Linked DNA regions of Homo sapiens: all the other regions are linked to region 2. The links are contacts of gene promoters, found by promoter capture Hi-C in human tissues and cell types (Jung and others, 2019). All regions are on one chromosome and are shown on one strand. Each heading gives the region's core, a stretch centred on a gene start or on the middle of the fragment in contact. The rest is flanking DNA. Distances are from core to core; before and after follow the strand shown. Region 1 overlaps PEX5 (peroxisomal biogenesis factor 5). Region 2 holds the start of APOBEC1 (apolipoprotein B mRNA editing enzyme catalytic subunit 1). Region 3 has its middle 5.5 kb from the start of ACSM4. Region 4 has its middle 10 kb from the start of CLEC4A. Region 5 has its middle 52 kb from the start of ACSM4. Region 6 has its middle 44 kb from the start of PEX5.

The links. Contacts are between HindIII fragments. The study calls those that stand out against the background at their distance.
Region 1: a fragment that was not itself captured here is called in contact with the fragment with the promoter of APOBEC1 in region 2 in 2 of the 25 tissues and cell types used here (dorsolateral prefrontal cortex and spleen).
Region 3: a contact is called between a fragment that was not itself captured here and the fragment with the promoter of APOBEC1 in region 2, in 1 of the 25 tissues and cell types used here (H1 embryonic stem cells).
Region 4: a fragment that was not itself captured here is called in contact with the fragment with the promoter of APOBEC1 in region 2 in 1 of the 25 tissues and cell types used here (hippocampus).
Region 5: a fragment that was not itself captured here is called in contact with the fragment with the promoter of APOBEC1 in region 2 in 1 of the 25 tissues and cell types used here (spleen).
Region 6: a fragment that was not itself captured here is called in contact with the fragment with the promoter of APOBEC1 in region 2 in 2 of the 25 tissues and cell types used here (spleen and stomach).

Annotation. Positions count from the first base shown.
Region 1 is chr12:7,205,705-7,209,456 of GRCh38, forward strand. It overlaps PEX5 (peroxisomal biogenesis factor 5), which reads left to right. Exons shown (of 16, transcript NM_001351132.2): 11 at 1,955-2,098; 12 at 2,306-2,376; 13 at 2,753-2,965; 14 at 3,301-3,466. Among named protein-coding and RNA genes, the nearest start is that of PEX5, 18 kb to the left of the region's middle. The HindIII fragment of the contact is 4,293 bases long and covers 94-3,752 here.
Region 2 is chr12:7,663,371-7,667,624 of GRCh38, forward strand. It overlaps APOBEC1 (apolipoprotein B mRNA editing enzyme catalytic subunit 1), which reads right to left and starts at 2,538. Exons shown (of 5, transcript NM_001644.5): 1 at 2,487-2,538. The coding sequence starts at 2,502. RefSeq lists an enhancer at 3,243-3,537. The HindIII fragment of the contact is 14,417 bases long and covers 1-4,254 here.
Region 3 is chr12:7,296,540-7,300,545 of GRCh38, forward strand. No RefSeq gene overlaps it. Among named protein-coding and RNA genes, the nearest start is that of ACSM4, 5.5 kb to the right of the region's middle. The HindIII fragment of the contact is 5,413 bases long and covers 1-4,006 here.
Region 4 is chr12:8,111,101-8,115,238 of GRCh38, forward strand. It overlaps a transcript of CLEC4A not described here. Among named protein-coding and RNA genes, the nearest start is that of CLEC4A, 10 kb to the right of the region's middle. The HindIII fragment of the contact is 5,099 bases long and covers 1-4,138 here.
Region 5 is chr12:7,250,203-7,254,018 of GRCh38, forward strand. No RefSeq gene overlaps it. Among named protein-coding and RNA genes, the nearest start is that of ACSM4, 52 kb to the right of the region's middle. The HindIII fragment of the contact is 4,546 bases long and covers 1-3,747 here.
Region 6 is chr12:7,232,034-7,235,740 of GRCh38, forward strand. No RefSeq gene overlaps it. Among named protein-coding and RNA genes, the nearest start is that of PEX5, 44 kb to the left of the region's middle. The HindIII fragment of the contact is 7,187 bases long and covers 1-3,707 here.

The DNA.
Region 1 (3,752 bases), core at 990-3,489, 460 kb before region 2:
AATATTCTAATTTTGGAAAATTCCTCTTTGATCAGCAATTGATGAGACTTCAAGGAGGGTAGATAATATGGATGAGAGGAAACTTAGAGAATCCTGTGGTTGCAAGATGGTGGCATTGAGTTGTTGTATTATCTAATGAAGACACCTGAAGAGCATTCGCATCACTTCTGGCTGTCATATACAGGCCATCATATCTTAAGGAAGTATCTAGAGCAGTGAGGATAATAGCTATTTACAGATAGTATCTTAAGCTTTTTGGTAAGGCGTTGGTGAAGATTCCCATTTGATGTTCTCAATGGCTCTGAGAGGCAGGAATTACTTTTATTAGGAAACTGCATTATAGATGACAGTAATCTCTGTTTTCTGTAGAGTGGCTTAAAACACGTATTAATGATGAACAATAGTTGAGGTTGAATGCAGAAGGATTTATTTTATTGAACTGTAATAGTCTAGGGCAAGGGCCAGCACACTGGCTTGTGGGATAAATCTTTATGTTTTTAGTGATCCACTAGCTGAGGATGGTTTTAACATTTTTAAATGGTTGGAGAAAATCAAAAGAGTAATACTTTGTGACAAGTGAAAATTATATAAAATTCAAATTTTAGTGTCCATAAATAAAATGTTATTGGAAGACAGCCGTGCTCATTTGTTTACTTATGTCTGGCTGCTTTCGCACTACAACAGTAGAGGTGAGTAGTTGCAGCAGATCCACGAAGCCTGAAATATTTATTATCTGGCCCTTCGCAGAAAAAGTTTGCTGATCACTGGACTAGCGTCATTTTCTGCCTTCTTAGTTTTTATATTATGCAGAGATGTCCAAAAACACACTTGTTTTCAATATAAATATACTTTCTATACATTTATCTCAAATCTACTATAATATGTCTTTCTTCTTAAACCCCCCATTGTAATTATTTAATTTTCATTTGTGACAAATAATTTGCATCTGATCATGACTTAGAATTTTGCTGGTAAGATTTAAGTGTTTTTGATTCTTTATCATTTTCACAATAATAATGAAAAAGGGCCTCATGTCTTTATTTTGTACAGTTTTATCTGAATTTATTCTTAACTGCATTTAGAAAGACCTCCACCTGTTGTTTTGCATCTTGTTTTCGTTCTGGTGTATTATTTTATGATGGTAACTACTCTCCAAAAACGGACTTTTTATTTGCATGTCCCAGATTTTGCAGCTTACTAGTGACTTCCCCTTTACCTCATTTCTTCTCTGCCTAGTGTAAAATGCCAGTTGACAAAGCTTTGCAGATAGTATCGTAACTCTTCTCTAAAGTGAGAAATCCTCAGCTGGAAGAGAATGGTGTCTTTCTGAAGTATTCTCTGCCATCTGGATTTTGGGATCCAGCTTTTGCTTACTGTCAGATACAGATTAATATTCATGATTATTAAGAATGAAATCGGGGAATAAATTAACATTTTCAAAATGCTTGAAAATGTTTTATCTAGTTGACATGTGGAATGACTCTGAGCTAAGTAAGAGTTATATTTGAATAGCAGGACTCCAAACAACATTTCCTTTATACATCATCACATTATTGAAGGATAACAAGAAATGCACTTTGCATAGCTAGGGACACTTTGTCTCATTACTATAAGCAGATCCTGTTGAGACATTCTGCCCCGTGGTGAGAAGTCAAGGTGTGGGAATACAAGCCTGTGATGACTTCCTAAAATAAGCTTATTTCCAGCGCAGATGAATTTGTAGACTTTCCTAGCTTCCCAGGTATCATGAACAGGAGATGGGAGCACAAACCTGATACCAAATGATTTTACTTGTGTCATACATGATCTTTATAATATGGAGAATTTGCCAGCAATTAATTCCGGAACCTGTTTGGAGGCCCTCAGCTTCTCTGCCTGCTGGTTGTCATCCTCACATCCCTGCTGTTCTGACGGTGCCACCTCTCAGTCCATCTCTCACGTGCTTTTCTTGTAGGGGTACCAGTTTGAGGAGGAGAACCCCTTGCGTGATCACCCTCAGCCTTTTGAAGAAGGGCTGCGGCGCCTTCAGGAGGGGGACCTGCCAAATGCTGTGCTGCTTTTTGAGGCAGCTGTGCAGCAGGATCCTAAGCACATGGAAGTGAGTGACTCCATAGTCTCATTTCTGGCTAGAGACTGCTTCCTCCATCTTGAGAAAGGCCCCAAGGAGAGTAGTGCAGATGGGTTAGGGCCTGGGTGATGGCCTAGGATAGGGGCTTGAGAGCGAGATGGTGAGTGGGAGAAGCCAGGGGGAAGGGCGAATGGAGAGGTGAATATGGGGTGATGGAATCTGTCAACTTCCCTCTAGGCTTGGCAGTATCTGGGTACCACCCAGGCAGAGAATGAACAAGAACTATTAGCCATCAGTGCATTGCGGAGGTGAGTACACTGAAAGGTGTGGGTGAGGTGCTTCCAAGGCTCTGCATATAACCTTTTGAATGACAGAAGCCCAGACCTGGATCCTTGTCTTCTTTCTGAGTGCTATCAAGAGTGTTTTCTCATGCTGAAACTCTGAGGGTTGGAGTGAATTCCATTCCTTCATCGGCTTTTGATTTTATTTGCGGCTTTGGTTGGCTCCTTGCCTGCTAAAACCTTCCCCTTAGATCTGTAACTTTATTATTAACTCATGTCAGAGGAGTCACAGGTGAGGCCATTGTGACTCTGCATTTCAAAGCTTGGCTTGGATCCCAGGGTGCTCACATGTGCCAGTGTCAGTCATTGCAGATATCAAGTCTGCCCATCCCTGATCAAACAGGTGTCTGGAGCTAAAGCCAGATAACCAGACAGCACTGATGGCGCTGGCTGTGAGCTTCACCAACGAGTCCCTGCAGCGACAGGCCTGTGAAACCCTACGAGACTGGCTGCGGTACACACCAGCCTATGCCCATCTGGTGACACCTGCTGAAGAAGGGGCTGGTGGGGCAGGACTGGGCCCCAGCAAGCGTATCCTGGGATCTCTCTTGTCTGAGTGAGTATGAGGGGTTCCTAGGATGAGGAATTACAGTAACCTAAGTCCCAGTAGGAGGGTGACCTTGGTTTTGGAAGTTTGGATGGATTGAGACTGAAGGGTCCTGAGAATGGGATGGGAAACCTAGGATCAAGTTGAAGGAGGTCTGCATTCTACAGTTCAGTGCTAGGATGAAATAGAAAAACAGGCTTCTATATTGGACTTTGAGAGTAGAAGAGATGACTGATAGATTGATGAATGTTGGGGATATGGTTGATCAATGAAGAAATTAATTTGGGGGGATGGGAATAGAGACATTCATCTACCTACTTTGTGTTTTTTTCCTTTTCATCCAGCTCCCTGTTTCTTGAAGTGAAAGAGCTCTTCCTGGCAGCTGTGCGGCTGGACCCTACCTCCATTGACCCTGATGTGCAGTGTGGCTTGGGAGTCCTTTTCAACCTGAGTGGGGAGTATGACAAGGCCGTGGACTGCTTCACAGCTGCCCTCAGCGTTCGTCCCAATGTGAGCCCAGGGGAGGAATGGAAATGGGACATGACTGTGTACCTTATTGAAGAGCCATTTGTTGGGAAGCTGGGTTTGATGGTGCATGCCTGTAGTCCCAGCTACTTGGGAGGCTGAAGTGGGAGGATCACTTGAGCCTGGGAGTTCAAATCCAGCCTGGGCAACATAGCAAGACCCTGCCCACCCCCACAAAAAAGAATAATTTGTTCAGACTTTTGGAGTCTTGGGGTATTTCATTCCAGTGTTCCATGTACTGACTGCCTTGGGAGGACTGGGAAAAGAAGGC
Region 2 (4,254 bases), core at 1,288-3,787:
AAATAGGACGAAGTCAGGAAACACTATTCCAAGTGTGACCTGAAGAACAAATCTCTTACTTTTAAAGGAGGAATGGGGGATTTGAGCATTGGGAGGAAGGAGGAAGGGGGTGGCTGGCACGTTGGAATGAGCTCTTCTCAGATCTTAGTGCAAATTGGGGCCCTTGAACCAGTAATCTACTCCGAGGGAGCCTTACATAAACAGAGGCCACATCATAGGAAAAAGGCATTTGATGATGGGAAGACACTTTCTCTGAAAGAGCTGAAGCAGCAGTGAGAAGTTCAGAAAGGGACGGTGAGACATATGCTGTGTCTACACTGATCAATATTATTCCTGGGATGCAAAGACAAGGATACCAGCCACATGACTGGGGACAGTTTGAGGTATAGAACACACCACCTTCATAAGAAAAGTCCAGGGAAGGTATTAGCTACTACAATCAAATAATGTGTTTGGTCTTTCCCCCAGTATGCCACTTAAAAAAGAATTTTTTTTTTTTTCCCGAGATGGAGTTTTGCTCTTGTTGCCCAGGCTGGAGTGCAATGGCGCGATCTCGGCTCACTGCAACCTCCGCCTCCCTGGTTCAAGTGATTCTCCTGCCTTGGCCTCCCAAGTAGCGGGATTACAGGCATGTGCTACCGTGCCCAGCTAATTTTGTATTTTTAATAGAGACGTTGTTTCTCCATGTTGGTCAGGCTGGTCTCAAACTCCCTACCTCAGGTGATCCGCCTGCCTTGACCTCCCAAAGTGCTGGGATTACAGGTGTGAGCCATCACACCTGACCTTAAAAAAGAATTCTAACAGATGAAGAACATAAAGGAGAAAATAAATTGTTACTTCAACTCCAAACTGATATCTATATTACCTTCTGCCCCATCACACTCACACTATTGCAATAGTCTTCTAACTGGTCTCCTTGCTTCCAGTCCAAAACCCATCACATGTCAAGTAAATGTGTCTAAAGCACTATTTTAGTCATATCTCTGTGCTATTCATAAATTCTCCAAAGATATTCCCTCTACCATAAAGAAAAACTTTCATTCCTTGAGCCTGGCATTCGAAGTCCTCTATAGTATAATAACACTTCAAATTTGCTTTCTGGTCTTACTGCAAATTGTTTACATAAATTTTTTGTAGCCTAACCAGTTTATTCATTATATTCCAGACACAAGTCTCTATAAAAGCTTTTAAATTCTGTTCATCAATAGGATTCAATCAACCTGGAATCTCCTCTTCTTTGTCGATCCAAAGTCTGCCCTTCTGGCCTGGCATGGTGGCTTACACCTGTAATCCCAGTACTTTGGGAGGCCGAGGCTAGTGGATCACTTGAGCCCAGGAGTTCAAGACCAGCCTGAGCAATAAAGCAAGACCTCATCTCTACAAAAAAATTAGCAGGGCTGGTGGCCCATGCCTGTTGTCCCAGCTACCCAGGAAGGTGAGGCGGGAGGATCTCTTGAGCCCAGGAGGTCAAGACAGCAGTGAGCAGTGATCACACCACTGTACTCCAGCCTAGGCAACAGGGCGAGTCTTAAAAAAAAAAAAAAAAAAATTTGGTTAGGCATGGTGGCTCATGCCTGTATTCCTAGTACTTTGAGAGACCAAGGGTGGAGAATTGCTTGAGCCCAGGAGTTCCAGACCAGCCTGGGCGAAGTAGTGAACCCACCCGCTAGTCTCTAAAAACAAAATAAGATAAAAATTTTTTTAGGTCTACACTTCTCTTAGAATCCAGCTCAAATCCTAGCTCAGCTGAAATTACTTCCTTCAGCCTGAAGTGTTCTTCCTCTCCCATGCATTTTTCTAACACTGACTGTGCACAAATTTATCAATTAGTTATAGTCAATTCATTTGTCAATTAGCACATTGTTCTCATGCTATCACGTCTGTTGTTACCTTAAACTGTTATTTAAACAGTTGTACTTTTACTTAACTTTTTTTTTATTTTTGTGAGACAGAGTCTTGCTCTGTTGCCCAGGCTGGAGTGCAGTGGCGTGATCTCAGGTCACTGCAACCTCCGCCTCCTGTGTTCAAGTGATCCTCCTGCCTCAGCCTCCCGAGTAGCTGGGACTACAGGCATGCGCCACCATGCCTGGCTAATTTTTGTATTTTTAGTACAGATAGGGTTTCACCATGTTGGCCAGGCTGGTCTCAAACCCTGGGCCTCAAGTGATCCACCCTCCTTGGACTCCCAAAGTGCTGGGATTACAGGTGTGAGCCACAGCGCCTGGCTACTTAATTTTTTATCATGGTGAAACAAACACTGATTTGGTTAAAGTCACTTGGAGATGTAAATATTTACTAATAATAAACCATCTTATTTAAGACTAATATATTAATCAATAATAGGGAAGTTTGAAAACACCCACAGATGCAAGAATCAGCAGGACACACACACACACACACACACACACACACACACACACACACACACACACACACCATTCTTGCATTGTTCAAGAATACTTGCCAAGCCCCCGGATCCATTTTACCTTTCTCAGAAGTCATGGTGCTCTGTCTCTGGACTTCCTCCTCTGGAGTCATAAGTTGTGCTGATTGTTCCTGGACTTTGTTGCTTCAGGTGTGCCCACTGCCACCTGCTTGGGCAGAGGATGACTCATTCCCGCATCTCAGGCAGTTATGGGAATCTGAGCTGTCTGTACAAACAGGGGGCCGACTGAGAGGGACATTATCGTGGGGATTTGCATCTTTAGTGATGAGAAAGCCTATGATGCAAATGACATGAATTTTGTAGGGTGGATCACTGGGTACCAAATTCCAAAGTTCTTCAATGACATCTGAATTTGGTAAACTTTCTCTTTCTTTAAATAAAGATTAAGGCAAGGTGGATCCATCATTCTTTTTTGTTTTGTTTTGTTTTATTTATTTATTTTTCATTATCTCCTACTCTGCATCAAGGATGCATCATTCTTTTTTTTTTTCTTTGAGACGGAGTTTTGCTCTTGTCGCCCAGGCTGGAGTGCAATGGCACAATCTTGGCTCACTGCAACCTCTGCCTCCCAGGTTCAAGCGATTCCCCTGCCTCAGCCTCCCGAGTAGCTGGGATTACAGGCGCCCAACACCACGCCCGGCTAATTTTTTGTATTTTTAGTAGAGACGGGGTTTCACCATGTTGGTCAGGCTGTTTTTGAACTCTTGACCTCAGGTGATCCACCCGCCTCGTCCTCCCAAAGTGCTGGGATTACAGGCATGAGCCACCGTGCCTAGCCTAGGATGCATCATTCTTTAATGGAGAGATGAGAGGAAAAATAAAGTTAAGAGAGACTTAATCTGTAACTATAGCTTGAAAATTTTTATGTTATCTGGTGAGCACACTGTGGCCTTGGCTTTCAGCTGTTATTCACCTATTTCCAACTTCCTCTCATTTTGCTCTCTGTCCTACATCCGTGTTGGAGAGGGGAGGGGAGCTATTAGATACAAAATGAGAAGGACCTTGGCCTCTGAGTCAGCTAATTTGTGTACAGGTCTTTGGTGCTCTCTTCATCCTTGAATCTAAGATTAAGTGTGTGGCCAAGTCCACTTCTGCCCTTTTTTTTTTTTTTTGAGACAGAGTTTCGCTCTTGTCACCCAGGCTGAAGTGCAATGGCGCGATCTCGGCTCACTGCAACCTCTGCCTCCCAGGTTCAAGTGATTCTCCTGCCTCAGCCTCCCAAGTAGCAGGGATTACAGGCACCCACCACCACACCAGGCTAATTTTTATATTTTTAGTAGAGACAGGGTTTCTCCATGTTGGCCAGGCTGGTCTCAAACTCCTGACCTCAGGTGATCCACCCGCCTCAGCTTCCCAAAATGCTAGGATTACAGGCGTGAGCCACCTCTCCCAGCCACTTCTGCTTTTTTATCCCCCTTGAAAAAGTAAATGCCATACTTCCCTATGCCATTGCTCTCTGTTGCCTGAACCCTGGGTCAAGTTCAAGCCAAAAATTCCTCTGAGTCTCAGCACTTACTCCTAGAATTGAGGTCACTTTTTCAAGGCCTAAGTCTCCCTCTAGTGTCTCAAATCTAGAACTCCTGAACTTTGAATCTCAAGGCCCCATGAACCTGAAACCCGAATCCTACATACAAGACTTTACTTAGTTATGAAAGTCAACCTGGAGCCTCCATGAGATAAAGCAGGTGTTTCGACAGGGGCAGACCAGTGTTTTGAAGAAGGGGCAGAAATCCCACATCATCAATAAAGGCCCTTCAGAGACCAAGTTTTTCTAAGTTAGGTAAGAGTAGAATCATTGTAGAATAAAA
Region 3 (4,006 bases), core at 189-2,688, 370 kb before region 2:
AATTCTAGGAGAAAAAGCATAAAAGATACACACCACACATACACACAAACACACACACACACACACACACACACACACACACACACACCCCTTGGATATTTGCTTTTAATTAAGCTGACTTTTAACCATAGAGCTCTTAAAAAATCCTTTTAAATCTGATTACCATATTTTAGCTGGGACGAACTGCCAGTATTTCAAAAGTAACACAAATATCAAACCAGAAAGGATTTGATTTAGGAATCAAAACCAGGCTGCCGTGGTGAAAAAAGGGCAGAATCTTAGCTACTGAACCACAGCATGGGGTGACCACTATTGCTCTCTCAGTTTGGCGGGCTAGCAAAAGGTGGCCTTGTTTTGTAAATAAAGACCCTCAGGTAGTCAAAAATTTTCTTTTCTTTTTTTTTTTTTCCCCTTTTGCTGGCTGTGTTTTCTTCTTTCGTCTCTTTTGTTGTTGTTCAGCTGTGGGAATTTAGCCAATTCAGAGGCATTGTTCCCCATAATTTGGAACTTTCCTTCAAATTCGACCAAAGGAAATCTACCAGTTGGTCAAACCCAATGGGAAAAAGACCAAAACAACAAAAACAACCACCACCACCAAAAACAACAAACCCAGAAACAAACAAAAAAACACTTAAGCAAACAAACAAACAACTGGTCAATTTATACAATTACTGAGCGCTCTAATGGTAAGGAGAAATTCAGACCGGCTGGGTGTTAATCTTAACTTTTAGTAATTCAGGAGAATTTCCAAGACAAAATCCCAATTCGGCTACTTACCTAGGAATGGGGCCCAGGCTGAAGATTGCCCTCCGCCATTTTAAACGCAGGAAAAAACCTTAAACTTGCCTTCCCTGTTGGAAGTGAGCTGAAACTCCTGAAAAGAATCACCTGCTTTCCATCATTACGGAAGCAGGAAAACTCACCTGCCTTGTTGGAAGTGAGTAAAACCCCAGAAAAGGAGTTGTACAGCCAAAGAAACCTTAGATATCAACCAAATTTTGGGAGATCATCGATTTTCTGCAGTGGGGAGCTCCCTAGACCTGAGCAGATTGTCCTATTAGTTTGAGCAATAAAGATCGTTCAAGCTGGTACCAAGCACCAATAGGACATTTGTCGGTTAGGATCACCTCCACTTAGATTCCCTTCCACTGGTTGCCAATTTGTAAACCAAAAAATATCTGAGACAGGTCTCAATCAATTTAGAAGTTTATTTTGCCAAGGTTAAGGGCAATGCCTAGGAGAAAAAAAGCACAGAATCACAGAAACAGTCTGTGGTCTGTGCCTTTGTCCAAAGATAATTTTGAGGGCTTCAATATTTAAAGGGGAAAAGCAGGCTGGAGGGGGAAAGGAGAGGGTATGGTCACATTACAGAATCCACATGTTGCAAGAGAAAAGGAGCAGGTAGGTGAATAGTCAATTATATATTCATCTCATGCTCAGTAAATCGGCACTTTACCTAAGTAGCTGCCTATGCAGATAGGTAACATTTTATCAGTAGGAAGAAAAAGAAAGTCAGCTTCTTGTATGACTCAGCCTTCAGCTTAATTTTTTTCCTTTTGGCATAATGAATTGAGGTCCCAAGTTTTTGTTTTCCTTCCACAGATCTGGAGTCAAAAGACCTGGGTTCCAGTTCCGCCAGCAACCTGCTGTGTATCCCATCAAATCACCTCTCCTCTTGGGGCCTTCTTATTAGTAAAATGAAAAGATTGGTCTGTGTACTTTCAAAGACTCATCCAGCCTCAACAATCTAACAGTCTGCAGGTTTCATACCTGGGAAGAGGGAATACCTACTTTTAAACAGGCCATTACTTTAATAGCTGTTGAGCTTCTACTGTGTGCATGGCAGACATCCAGCAGTGGTCAGGATGTGTACAGTCTCTGAGGGTATTAGTTTTCTATTGCTGCTGTAATAAATTACCACAAACTTAATCGCTTAAAACCACATGAGTTTATCATCTTACAGTTCTGAAGGTCAGGATCCTGCCATCGGTTTCACTAAGCTAAAATCAAGGTGCCAGCAAGCTTGTATTTATTCTGAAGCCCCAAGAAGAGAATGTATTTCCTTGCCTTTTCAAACGTCTAGAAGTCATCTGCATACCTTGGCTGGTGGCCTTTCCCTGCACCTTCAAATCAGCAGCAGAGTCATCATGTCACCTTCACTGACTAACCTTCCTGCCTTTCTCTTATAAAGACCCTTGTGATTCTATTAGACCCACTCAGATGTTCTAGGATAATCACCCTATTTCAAGGTCCTTAAGGTAATCAAATCTGTAATGTCCTTTTTCCTATTTAAAGAAACGTAGTCACAGGTTCTAAAGTTTAGTATGTAGATATCTTTAGCAGGGAGAGCGTCTATTCAGTCTGGCACCCTGGGCTTAGCCTTCATTTGTTAAAAGACCAGGAAGCTCTCTTCATATATAAGCCCATAAGAGATACTGTCCTTTGGGTGTTATACGGGCTACCAATGAACTCTTAAAGTGAAAAATGCCACTGTCTGACCACTGCCACCATCACTGTCACCAACAAGCAACATTTGGGCATAAACTTTGTGAAACCCAATTCCTGTTGCCAGCAACTAACATCCACAAGGGCATAGACAGGCAATGTTTATGTTCAAACCCTTCAGCAACATTGTCTTAAGATAATTTCCAAATGAGATAGCATCAGAACAGATATCCAGGAGCAGCCAGGCACACAGTAGATGCTCAATAAAAGCCAGGAGTTTGGAGGTTTTCTCATAATCTTCATTAATCAGTGAGTTGAGGGTTCTGATATGCTTTTTGGTTATACTACTTTGGTAGGTTTGCCAGGCCAGATCCAGTTATATCACAATAATCAAGCATGCCAATGTCTTGGGCTGCCCGACAACAATGTTGAGAGGCTCTGATAAAGACCACTGCACCAGGGTAGATCTCTTTATCTTCAGCTCTATAAATGAAAATAATCTGTTAATGCACTGGGGCTTAGCCATTGTTTGGCACTGACCTATGAGAGGAGGTTGCCCCTGCACTGCCTTTCTCTCCTCCCAGCTGTGTCTTATAAGCTGCTGTCACCTTAACCACAGGTTGTCCAGAGAAACAAAAACTCTCCTCCCAGAGGATTATGATCCTTCCACCTGCACACCAGAGACTTAGGGCTACCATGGCATAGATGCTTCCAAAAGAAAAGAAGAAAGGAACTGACTTTCTGGCAGATACAGAACTGAGTCTCTGTGAAGGAGTTAACGGCCTTTCTGGATCAATAATACCATTCTCTGGTAAGGAAACAATGCATCTGGTAACATGGAGGTGACTCTAGTAAATGAGAAGTTGGGAAAGTACCACAGTAGTAAGAGAAAAGGCACGTTGGCCGGGGGCACTGGCTCACGCCTGTAATCCCAGCACTTTGGGAGGCTGAGGTGGGAGGACTGCTTGAGCTCAGGAGCTTGAGACCAGCCTGGGCAACATAGTGAGACAAAAAATTAACAAATTAGCCAGGCATGATGGCACATGCCTGTGGTCGCAGCTATTCAGGAGGTGGAGGCGAGAGGACCACTTGAACCTGGGAGGTCCAGGCTCCAGTGAGCTACGATCATCACTGCACTCCAGCCTGGGTGACAGAGTGAGATGCTGTTCCCCCACCAAAAAAAAAAAAAAAAAAAAGAGAGAGAGAGAGAAAGAAAGAGGCGCATTATCTTGCTGTAATTGGATAACTGCAGACCCAACCCTAGCAAACTGTCCTCTGATAGGAAAATAAAATGTTCTCTTACTTTATTAAGGTTGATAGAAATGTAGCAAAAACCTGGTAGCATTTCCTTGTATAGCTTTGGAGACAACGAAGGTGGGCTGGAATTTCTGCTGCTTGCTAGATGGATGGCTTTTTGATAAGTTGCTTACCTCTCTGTACCTCAGTGACCTTATGCATGAAACAATAAATCGTATATACAGAAAATAAAATGCCTGCTTCCTAGCACTGTTGACATATATTATATGGAAGTATTTAACATGACCACACACCAATTGGTCAA
Region 4 (4,138 bases), core at 1,163-3,662, 450 kb after region 2:
CTGACCTTGTGATCCACTGCCTCAGCCTCCCAAAGGGCTGGGATTACAGGTGTGAGCCACCGCGCCTGGCCCAACATCTTTTTTTTTTTTTTTTTTTTGAGACAGACTCTGGCTCTGTTGCCCACACTGGAGTGCAGTGGCTGATCTCAGCTCACTGCAACCTCTGCCTCCCAGGTTCAAGCAATTCTCCTGCCTCAGCCTGCCAAATAGCTGGGATTACAGGCGTGCACCACCACCTCCGGCTAATTTTTGTATTTTTAGTGGACACAGGGTTTCACCATGTTGGCCAGGCTGGCCTTGAACTCCTGACCTCAGATGGTCCACCTGCCTCAGCCTCCCAAAGTGCTGGGATTACAGGTGTGAGCCACTGCACCTGGCCTTCTAGACATTTTTTAAAGCATTCTCTCTCTGTGTGTATCTGCCTATGCAAAGATCCTTTAATAAAATAAAAATTACATGTAAATTGTTTATATTATTTTTTAAAAAATTAATAATGTTCTGAAGTTCTTTCTTTGCCTATGCATTTGTATTTGCTTATGTTTAGTTTATGTTTAGAGCTATTCAGGTTCTCTAAAGTATGGATGTACCGTAATATATTTAACCACTGTCCTTGTTGATAGTAACATTTCTGACATTTTTGACACTAAATTTTACACTGAACATCTTTTACATATAATATATACTTAAATGAAAAATTTAAAGGATAGATTCCCCAGAAATGGACTTGGTGGGTGAAATGCGATTAATTAAAATTTAAAAAACTTCAACTTTTTTTTTTAGACTCAGGGGGTACATGTGCAGGTTTGTTATGTGAGTGTGTATATGTGTGTGTGTGTGTGTGTGTGTGTGTGTGTGTGTGTGTGTATTTTATTTATTTATTTTTTTTAGACAGAGCTTTGCTCTTGTTGCCCAGGCTGGAGTGCAATGGTGCAATCTCTGCTCACCTCAGTCTCCGCCTCCTGGGTTCAAGCAATTCTCCTGCCTCAGCCTCCTGAGTAGCTGGGATTACAGGCATGCACCACCATGCCCGTCTAATTTTGTATTTTTAGTAGCGATGGGGTTTCTCCATGTTGGTCAGGCTGGTCTCAAACTCTTGACCTCAGGTGATCCGCCCAGCTTGGCCTCCCAAAGTGCTGGGATTACAGGCATGAGCTACCGCACCTGGCCTACGTGGGTATATTGCGTGATGCTGAAGTTTGGGATATGACTGATCCCATCACTCAGGTAGTGAGCATAGTATCCAGTAATGTGTCAACCCTTGTCTCCCTTCCTCCCTCCCCCAACATTTAAAATTTTGATAGATTTATTTCTATATTATCTTCTGCCTAATTCATATACTTAATATAAATTCTGAGGCTGTTTGTTTCTCTATTTTGTCAACAGTTTATTTTTAAAATATTTAGTTAATATATTGGGTGAAAAATATATTCATTTCTCTTACTACAGTGAGATTGTGCTCTTTTCATATATTTATTTACTATCTTTTTTTTTCATGTGTTGTCATGTGTTTAAGTTTTAGTTGTGAGTTTGTCTTTAGTGTGTTTTCCTTATGGGCAATCCTGTTCTACCTCAGTTGTGGGAGTATTTCTTTGGAGTGGTTTTGCATTTGCCTTTTCTAAGTCCTCAGGGTTATTATCAGATTGAGACCTAATTTTAAGTTAAATTCCTGGCTCAGAGTCTCCTTTATATCCTAAGTCATATAAGTTTGTACTCCAAAATTACATATATCATAGATAATATAAGTTGGTACTCCAAACTTACATACACAGAGGCCTGGGATTTTCCCTTCCACTTTTTATCATGAATATTTTCAAAAGAAGTTGAATGAATAATACAGTTAATAACCATATATCCATTGTCCATTTTTTTTTATTTTATTATTATACTTTAAGTTTTAGGGTACATGTGCACAACGTGCAGGTTTGTTACATATGTATACATGTGACATGTTGGTGTGCTGCACCCATTAACTCGTCATTTACATTAGGTATATCTCCTAATGCTATCCCTCCCCCCTCCCCCCACCCCACAACAGTCCCCAGTGTGTGATGTTCCCCTTTCTGTGTCCATGTGTTATCATTGTTCAATTCCCACCTGTGAGTGAGAACATGCGGTGTTTGGTTTTTTGTCCTTGCGATAGTTTGCTGAGAATGATGGTTACCAGTTTCATCCATGTCCCTACAAAGGACATGAACTCATCATTTTTTATGGCTGCATAGTATTCCATGGTGTATATGTGCCACATTTTCTTAATCCAGTCTGTCGTTGTTGGTCCATTGTCCATATTTAACAATTGTTGACATTTTGACAAATTTGGCTTTCTGCTTAGGTGATTGGTTTTTGTTTTAGTGTTGAGTTGTACAGTCTTTAAATTCAGAAAACGTTCTAGGGAGAAATTAGCAATGTACTTGAAGTCTCCTTAAAGCTCTACCAAAAGCTCCAATGGCTTTTTTGTCCCTTAGCAGCAGCCATCTGCAGGTACAAAGACCAGATTCTCAGCCTCCTGCCCATGCTCAGAATTAGCAAACCTCAGAATAAAGCAGTTGTAGCAATCTGCTCACCTTTCAGATTTCTCTCTTCTTGGATCTTATTGTCGTCTCACCCCCTACCCAGGTTCTTATTGCCTAACAGGAATGAGAGACTAGAAGAGTTAAATGGGGAAGAGGGAAAGCTAATACAAGGGTGCATTATTAAGTTGGTTACTGCTTTGGGCAACTGAGACTCCATTCTTCTGGAGCTCTGAGGAGCTGTGTAGAATGCACCTTAAAATTGTGTCCCCAAGTGATAAAAGAGGGGACAATTTATCCACTAGCTTCCTTCCATCATTGGATCAGGGTTTCCTCATGGTGTGTTGGCACCTGCACAGTTTCAGGTTTGTTCTGTACAGGGGGCATTCGTACTTGTAATGTCAGAGGATCCCTGGGACGGAAAGCAAGAGATTCATGGTTGGCTGAGGCAAGGTGTTATCAGGTTGCACTTGCCCGAGGCTGGTTTCTGTAGCAAGAGCTGAAGTAAAAGGTGAAGATATGATACCTACAAAAGAGGAGTCCATACGGTGCTCAAATTGCCCTAAAATTGGCTAGTAGCCTTCAAGCTAATTTGTTGCTTTTTGACGTACTTGCATTAATGTTTGAGCAATTCCTTTATTTCTTTTTTTTTTCTGAGATGGAGTCTTGCTCTGTCGCCCAGGCTGGAGTGCAGTGGCGTGATCTCGGCTCACTGCAAGCTCTGCCTCCCGGGTTCACGCCATTCTCCTGCCTCAGCCTCCCGAGTAGCTGGGACCACAGGCGCCCGCCACCACGCCCGGCTAATTTTTTGTAGTTTTAGTAGAGACGGGGTTTCACCGTGTTAGCCAGGATGGTCTCAATCTCCTGACCTCGTGATCCACCCGCCTCAGCCTCCCAAAGTGCTGGGATTACAGGCGTGAGCCACCGCGCCCGGCCAATTCCTTTATTTCTGATGGAACAAAATATTGTAGACTCACCTTGTACTTTCCTACGAATTTTTCTTTTTTCACCCAAAGCCCAGGGAGAGGTATTACTGCTGAACTCTTTCTAGTTTACCTTTTGCTTAATTTACAGTTTTGCAAAAATTATGAATTATATGGAAGTCTCAATTCCAGCTCCCTGCTTAGTGCTTGTCCAAGGCTTTGTTTCCTCATTTTTTTGTGTATTTAAATCCAAACCCTTAGCCATTACTGCATCTAATGATTTTCTACTCCAGTTAGATGACTCTCAGCTCATGAAGGTTACCTCAAGTTGCATCTTTACCTGTTGTCCCATGTTGCTATATTCTGATTCACTGAGGACCCAATAGCATTTCTCAAGAATAGACCAATTACTCGCTGAGAGGGAATGATTTCCTCTGAACTATCCTACTGGCCTCCTTTGAATTCTCCTACCAATCTCCAGGTTGGTTTGCTTTAGGCTCCAATCTGCATGGATTTGCCAAAGAGGGTTCAAGCACCGCTAGTTTATTAGGGCTAAGTGCAGACTGTCTGTCTACCTGTGGCCTGGACCACCTGAACAGCCTTTTCAGTATGTCACCAAATCCTGGAAGCTTTTCGATTTTCTGGCAAATATGTTTGAACACCCAAATGTGAAATATATTGCCTTAAAAATCCAAAGAGGCCTATGAA
Region 5 (3,816 bases), core at 225-2,724, 410 kb before region 2:
TTATCTTAATTAATGGGAATATTCACACATTTCACTACAGAAATATTTACGTATATGATTTCAGTATGCTGCCCCAGGCCTTGCTAGGGGAGTAGAGATGGTTCTAAGTACCATATGACCTTTCCAAAAACTGAAAAATTCTGACTTCTAAAACATTTTAGCCATGTGGGATTTAGATAAGGAATAATGTTCAAAGATTTGCCACCAGGTACAAGAAAAGAATGTTCACTAAGCACTCAGAACAGTGCCTGACACCTGGAAAACAGGAGTTTCATTCCTCTCCTTGTAGTTTTGCCTATGAATAAGGAGCCCTTTTTCAAAAGTTAGCTCCAGGCAGCTGAACCTGGGCCAGATATTACAAATACAAAACTGGGTGAAAAAATATTTGCAGTTTACTTAACAGACAAAGAGTTAATATCCCTAATATGTAAGGAGTTCTTAAAGAAGAAAAAGGCCAAATCTGGTAGGAAAACAGGCAAAATACATGAATGGACAGTTCACAGGAAAAAATAAATGCTCCTTAAATATTAAAAAAATAAAATTTAAAAATAAAATATTAAAATTAAATTTTATTTGGAAATATTACTATGAACTCATAATTTTTTAAAAATTGTATTTCCTAGTTGTGTGTACTAGAAGTCCTGGAATCAGTGGCATCTAATAGTAAGATGCCATTGCTTCTGGAGCCTAAATCTTGATTTCTAAACATCATTCTTGATATAAGGGGCTCCTTGGTAAAAATGATATATCCACAGGTGGAGTACAAAAAATACCGGGCGAACTTGGGACTTCTTTTTGCATCAGAAAGTAAACAAGTGATCAAAAAATGATAATGACATGTCAAAAGGACACAAAAGTCAACTTGAGAGAGCTCTCACTGGCCAAATTTGAGACAATTTCTGTATCAAAAAGAATAATCAAGGCACCATGGAGGAGCCAAGATGGCCGAATAGGAACAGCTCCGGTCTACAGCTCCCAGCGTGAGTGACGCAGAAGACGGGTGATTTCTGCATTTCCATCTGAGGTACCGGGTTCATCTCACTAGGGAGTGCCAGACAGTGGGGGCAGGACAGTGGGTGCAGCACACCGTGTGCCAGCCAAAGCAGGGTGAGGCTTTGCCTCACTGGGAATCGCAAGGGGTCAGGGAGTTCCCTTTCCTGGTCAAGGAAAGGGGTGACAGACGGCACCTGGAAAATCCAGCCACTCCCACCCGAATACTGCGCTTTTCCGACCAGCTTAAAAAACGGCGCCCACAAGATTATATCCCGCACCTGGCTTGGAGGGTCCTACGCCCACAGACTCTCGCTGATTGCTAGCACAGCAGTCTGAGATCAAACTGCAAGGTGGCAGCGAGGCTGGGGGAGGGGCGCCCACCATTGCCCAGGCTCGCTTAGGTAAACAAAGCAGCCGGGAAGCTCGAACTGGGTGGAGCCCACCACAGCTCAAGGAGGCCTGCCTGCCTCTGTAGGCTCCACCTCTGGGGGCAGGGCACAGACAAACAAAAAGACAGCAGTAACCTCTGCAGACTTAAATGTCCCTGTCTGACAGCTTTGAGGAGGGTAGTGGTTCTCCCAGCACGCAGTGGGAGATCTGAGAACGGGCAGATTGCCACCTCAAGTGGGTCCCTGAACCTTGATCCCCAGCAGCCTAACTGGGAGGCACCCTCCAGTAGGGGCAGACTGACACCTCACATGGCCGGGTACTCCTCTGAGACAAAACTTCCAGAGGAACGATCAGATAGCAGCATTCACGGATCACGAAAATCTGTGGTTCTGCAGACACCGCTGCTGATACACAGGCAAACAGGGTCTGGAGTGGACCGCTAGCAAACTCCAACAGACCTGCAGCTGAGGGTTCTGTCTGTTAGAAGGAAAACTAACAAACAGAAAGGACATCCACACCAAAAACCCATCCGTACATCACCATCATCAAAGACCAAAAGTAGATAAAACCACAGAGCAGAAAAACTGGAAACTCTAAAAAGCAGAGTGCCTCTCCTCCTCCAAAGGAACGCAGTTCCTCACCAGCAATGGAACAAAGCTGGACGGAGAATGACTTTGACAAGTTGAGAGAAGAAGGCTTCAGACGACCAAACTACTCCGAGCTACAGGAGGAAATTCAAACCAAAGGCAAAGAAGTGGAAAACTTTGAAAAAAATTTAGACGAATGTATAACTAGAATAAACAATACAGAAGGGTGCTTAAAGGAGCTGATGGAGCTGAAAGCCAAGGCTCGAGAACTACGTGAAGAATGCAGAAGCCTCAGGAGCTGATGTGATCAACTGGAAGAAAGGGTATCAGTGATGGAAGATGAAATGAATGAAATGAAGTGAGATGGGAAGTTTAGAGAAAAAAGAATAAAAAGAAATGAACAAAGCCTCCAAGAAATATGGGACTATGTGAAAAGACCAAATCTGTGTCTGATTGGTGTACCTGAAAGTGACAGGGAGAATGGAACCAAGTTGGAAAACACTCTGCAGGATATTATCCAGGAGAACTTCCCCAATCTAGCAAGGCAGGCCAACATTCAGATTCAGGAAATACAGAGAACACCACAAAGATACTCCTCGAGAAGAGCAACTCCAAGACACATAACTGTCAGATTCACCAAAGTTGAAATGAAGGAAAAAATGTTAAGGGCAACCAGAGAGAAAGGTCAGGTTACCCTCAAAGGGAAGCCCATCAGACTAACAGTGGATCTCTCGGCAGAAACTCTACAAGCCAGAAGAGAGTGGGGGCCAATATTCAACATTCTTAAAGAAAAGAATTTTCAACCCAGAATTTCATATCCAGCCAAACTAAGCTTCATAAGTAAAGGAGAAATAAAATACTTTACAGACAAGCAAATGCTGAGAGATTTTGTCACTACCAGGCCTGCCCTAAAAGAGCTCCTGAAGGAAGCACTAAACATGGAAAGGAACAACCGGTACCAGCCGCTGCAAAATCATGCCAAAATGTAAAGACCATCGAGACTAGGAAGAAACTGCATCAACTAACGAGCAAAATAACCAGCTAAATCATCATGACAGGATCAAATTCACACATAACAATATTAACTTTAAATGTAATGGACTAAATGCTCCAATTAAAAGACACAGACTGGCAAATTGGATAAAGAGTCAAGACCCATCAGTGTGCTGTATTCAGGAGACCCATCTCATGTGCAGAGACACACATAGGCTCAAAAATAAAAGGATGGAGGAAGATCTACCAAGCAAATGGAAAACAAAAAAAGGCAGGGGTTGCAATCCTAGTCTCTGATAAAACAGACTTTAAACCAACAAAGATCAAAAGAGACAAAGAAGGCCATTACATAATGGTAAAGGGATCAATTCAACAAGAAGAGCTAACTATCCTAAATATATATGCACCCAATACAGGAGCACCCAGATTCATAAAGCAAGTGCTGAGTGACCTACAAAGAGACTTAGACTCCCACACAATAATAATGGGAGACTTTAACACTCCTCTGTCAACATTAGACAGATCGACGAGACAGAAAGTTAACAAGGATACCCAGGAATTGAACTCAGCCCTGCACCAAGCAGAACTAATAGACATCTACAGAACTCTCCACCCCAAATCAAAAGAATATACATTTTTTTCAGCACCACACCACACCTATTCCAAAATTGACCACATACTTGGAAGTAAAGCACTCCTCAGCAAATGTAAAAGAACAGAGATTATAACAAACTGCCTCTCAGACCACAGTGCAATCAAACTAGAACTCAGGATTAAGAAACTCACTCAACACCGCTCAACTACATGGAAACTGAACAACCTGCTCCTGAATGACTACTGGGTACATAACGAA
Region 6 (3,707 bases), core at 221-2,720, 430 kb before region 2:
TCATTGATTATCTAAGTCATGCATCTTTTCTTGCTACCATTTGTTCCAATTAAGCTCACACATTGGGTTAGTTGATAAGTGTTTTGTGTATCTTTTAATCTATGAATTTTCTCATTACCTTCTTTTTCCCTTGCAATTTGTTATTTTCAAGAACTGAGTTGTTGGTTTTTTTGAATATTTCACAGCTTGAATTTTGCTAATTGCATACATATGGTGTGGTTTACATGTTCTTCTGTTCCCCTACATTTCCTGTAAATTGATCTAGAGGTTTAGTCAGACTCTTGCTTGATTTTTTTTTTTTTTAACAAGACTACTTCTTAGGCTGTATAATGTTGTTCTCTTAGGAGGCACATAATGTCTGGTTAGGTTATTTTTTTCATGATGATAGTAGCCATTGATGATTATGACTAGATCCATTAATTTATTGCTTTTTGAAGATAAAAACTTGTCTGCATTTCTTTAAATAGGGTCTACTCTGTGCCACTCCCAAAATAATAAAATTGAAGCCACGCTCTCTGCTACCTTATATTGTCCAGGTAGGAGATCATAGTAATGATTATGACAGCTATTATTAAGTGAGCTCTTACGGTTTTTTATCTAAATTTCTAACATAAAGGTAGGCAACAAGGAAAGTCCAACATTCTCTAAATGCACCCCAAGGGTAATCTCACATTATTGCTTTTATTTTCCCCTCAATGTCCTTTTAGAATAAAGAGCCTAGACACAGGAATGAGGGAAAGAGATGCTGACAATTTTGCAGAATATCCCTTTAATGTAGTTCAAGTTTCAAACATGGAGAAAGTAAAGAAAAACATATTTGCTATTAGAAAGATATGAGCAAAATAAAGACAACTATTTTGAATGTACCATAATAAGGGTTCTGTACTTGAACTAAAAATACACTAAAGTGGGAAGTCTTAGCCGCTGGTCAGCTGCTCAGGTGTTGATTATAAACACTGTAGTGTATTTGGGAATGGTGTTGCTGAATTCACAGTACAGGCATAGGTAGCAATACTAAGATGGTAAGGCAAATGTTAGTGTCTAGCATTTTATTACATAAAAGCAGGCTCAAATTAGCAGCAGTTATAAAATTACCATTATTCATTTTAAGATAGTCCTTTGCCTTCATGTGTATCTTGCCTTTTTTTATACATTGGTCAAAAGGAAATAGTAAGTTCTCAACCTGAATGAGACAAACATTAGTATTTACTTTAACTATTGTATCATTCCGAAATTGACCCAATTTTTTAAAGATGTTTATTGTAGAGTTCTATTGTTTGTTTTTTGTTTGCATATCCATTTTTACTATATATTATTTAACAGAGTGTGGAAGTTAGCCTAATTTGTTGCGGTTTATATGTTTGTTTTTTCCAATAATCATGAATAGGTATTACATTATATTAAATGAGTTTTCCGATTCTGTTGAAAAGATAAAATAGTTTTTCTCGACTAACCTGTTAGAGTTAATTTAAAAATATTTTCAAATGTTAAATTTGCATTGCATTTCTTTCCTGATTTTATTTTCTTGGGTAAAATTTCTTAATTTTTGTTTGTTTGAACCTTTGCATTTAGAGTCATGAATAAAATGAGCATATAATTTTCCTCTCAAAAAATAAGAAAAAATTAAAATGTTCATTGCATACTAAAGTATGAACAAAAAATAAAAAATAAAATGTTCTTTAGGATTTTCTTAGAAAAAACTCTTTCCACAAAATCAACAAACCCTATAACTATGAAAAGTAAAAGAGAAAAATACTCAAAGAAAGAAAATCAGGAGTGAAAGAGGAGACACTGCAACTCCTGCCACAGAAATGTGAAGAATCCCTAGAATAATTATACGTCAACAAAATGGACAACTTAGAGAAAATAAAGTCCTGAAAGCATACAACCTACCAAGACTGAATTATGAAGAATTAAAAAGTCTGAACAGACCAATAACAAATAAGGAGATTAAATTAGTAATCAAAAACCTTCCAGCGGGTGTGGTGGCTCACGCCTGTAATCCCAGCATTTGGCAGGCCAAGGCTGGTGGATCGTTTGAGGTCAGGAGTTTGAGACCAGCCTGGCCAACATGGTGAAACCCTGTGTCTACTAAAAATACAAAAATTAGCTGGGTGTGATGGCACGCACCTGTAATTCCAGCTACTTGGCTGGCTGAGGCAGGAGGATCGCTTGAACCCGGGAGGTGGAGGTTGCAGTGAGTGAGATTGTGCCACTGCACTGCAGCCTGGGTGACAGAGCAAGACTCCATCTCAAAAAACAAACAAACAAACAAAACCCCAAAAAACAAAAAACAAAAAGCCTTCCAACAAAGAAAAGCCCAGACCCAAATGGCTTCACACATGCTTTCTACCAGAATGAGGGACAAAGATGACTTGATAATCTCAAAAGATACAGCAAAAGCATTCCACAAGATTCAACACCCTTTGATGATAACAACTCTCAACAAATTAGGTATAGAAGGAATTTACCTTGACAAAATAAAGGCCATATATAAAAAGCACACAGCTAACATCATACTCAACGGTCACAAACTGAAAGCGTTTTCTCTCAGATCTGGAACAAGGAAATGATGTACATTCTCACCACTTCTATCCAACATAGAATTAGAAGTCCTAGCCAGAGTAAGTAGACAAGAAAAGAAAATAAAAAGTATTCAAATCAGAAAGGAAGAAGTAAAATTATCTCTGTTTGCAGATTACATGATCTTATAGATGTGCAGAAAATTATATTTCTATATATGATATATAGAAAATTCTAAAGATTTACCAAAAAAACTTAGGATAAACAAATTTAACAAAGTTTCAGGATACAATATCGATGTACCAAAATCAGTTGTGTTTCTATACACTACAATAAATTGTCCAAAAAGGAAATTAAGAAAACAATTTTGGCCGGGTGAGGTGGCTCACACCTGTAATCCCAGCAGTTTGGCCGGCCAACGTTTGGATCACTTGAGGCCAGGTGTTTGGGACCAGACTGACCAACATGGTAAAACTCCAGATCTCTAAAAATACAAAAATTAGCTTGGCGTGGTGGCACACGACTGTAATTCCAGCTACTTGGGGGGCTGAGGCAGGAGAATCGCTTGAACCTGGGAGGCGGAGGTTGCAGTGAGTCGAGATTGCGCCACTGCACTCCAGCTTGGGTGACAGAGCAAGATTCTGTCTTAAAAAAAAAAAAAGTTTAACTCATAGATCCAGAAAGTGAATTGGTGGTTGCCAGGAGCTGGTGGGGAGGAGAAAACAGGAAGGTATTCATCAAAGGGTACAAAATTTCAGCTACACAGAGAATAACTGCTAGAGATCTACTGTACAGCATAATGCCAACAGTTAACAATACTGTATTATATTCTTAAAATCTTGCTAAGGAGATATTTTAAGTGTTCTTATTACCAAAATAATAATAATAATAAAGTCAGAGGGTGGAAGGAAACTTTTTGGAGGTGATGAATAGGTTTTTAATTTTTCAATTTGTCAAAATGAAGTATTGTAACTTAATTTCTTACATTCCCCATCCAACACACACGTGTGCACACACACAACTTCCCACAGAGAAAAGGCCAGGCCCAGATGGCTTCATGGTGAATTCCATCCAACATTTAAGGAAGCATTAACATTAATCCTTCACAAATTCTCCAAAAAATATGTAAGACCAGGATTTTGGAGGCTGGGCCTCAAAATGGGGTCATAGTATGAGCCACGATT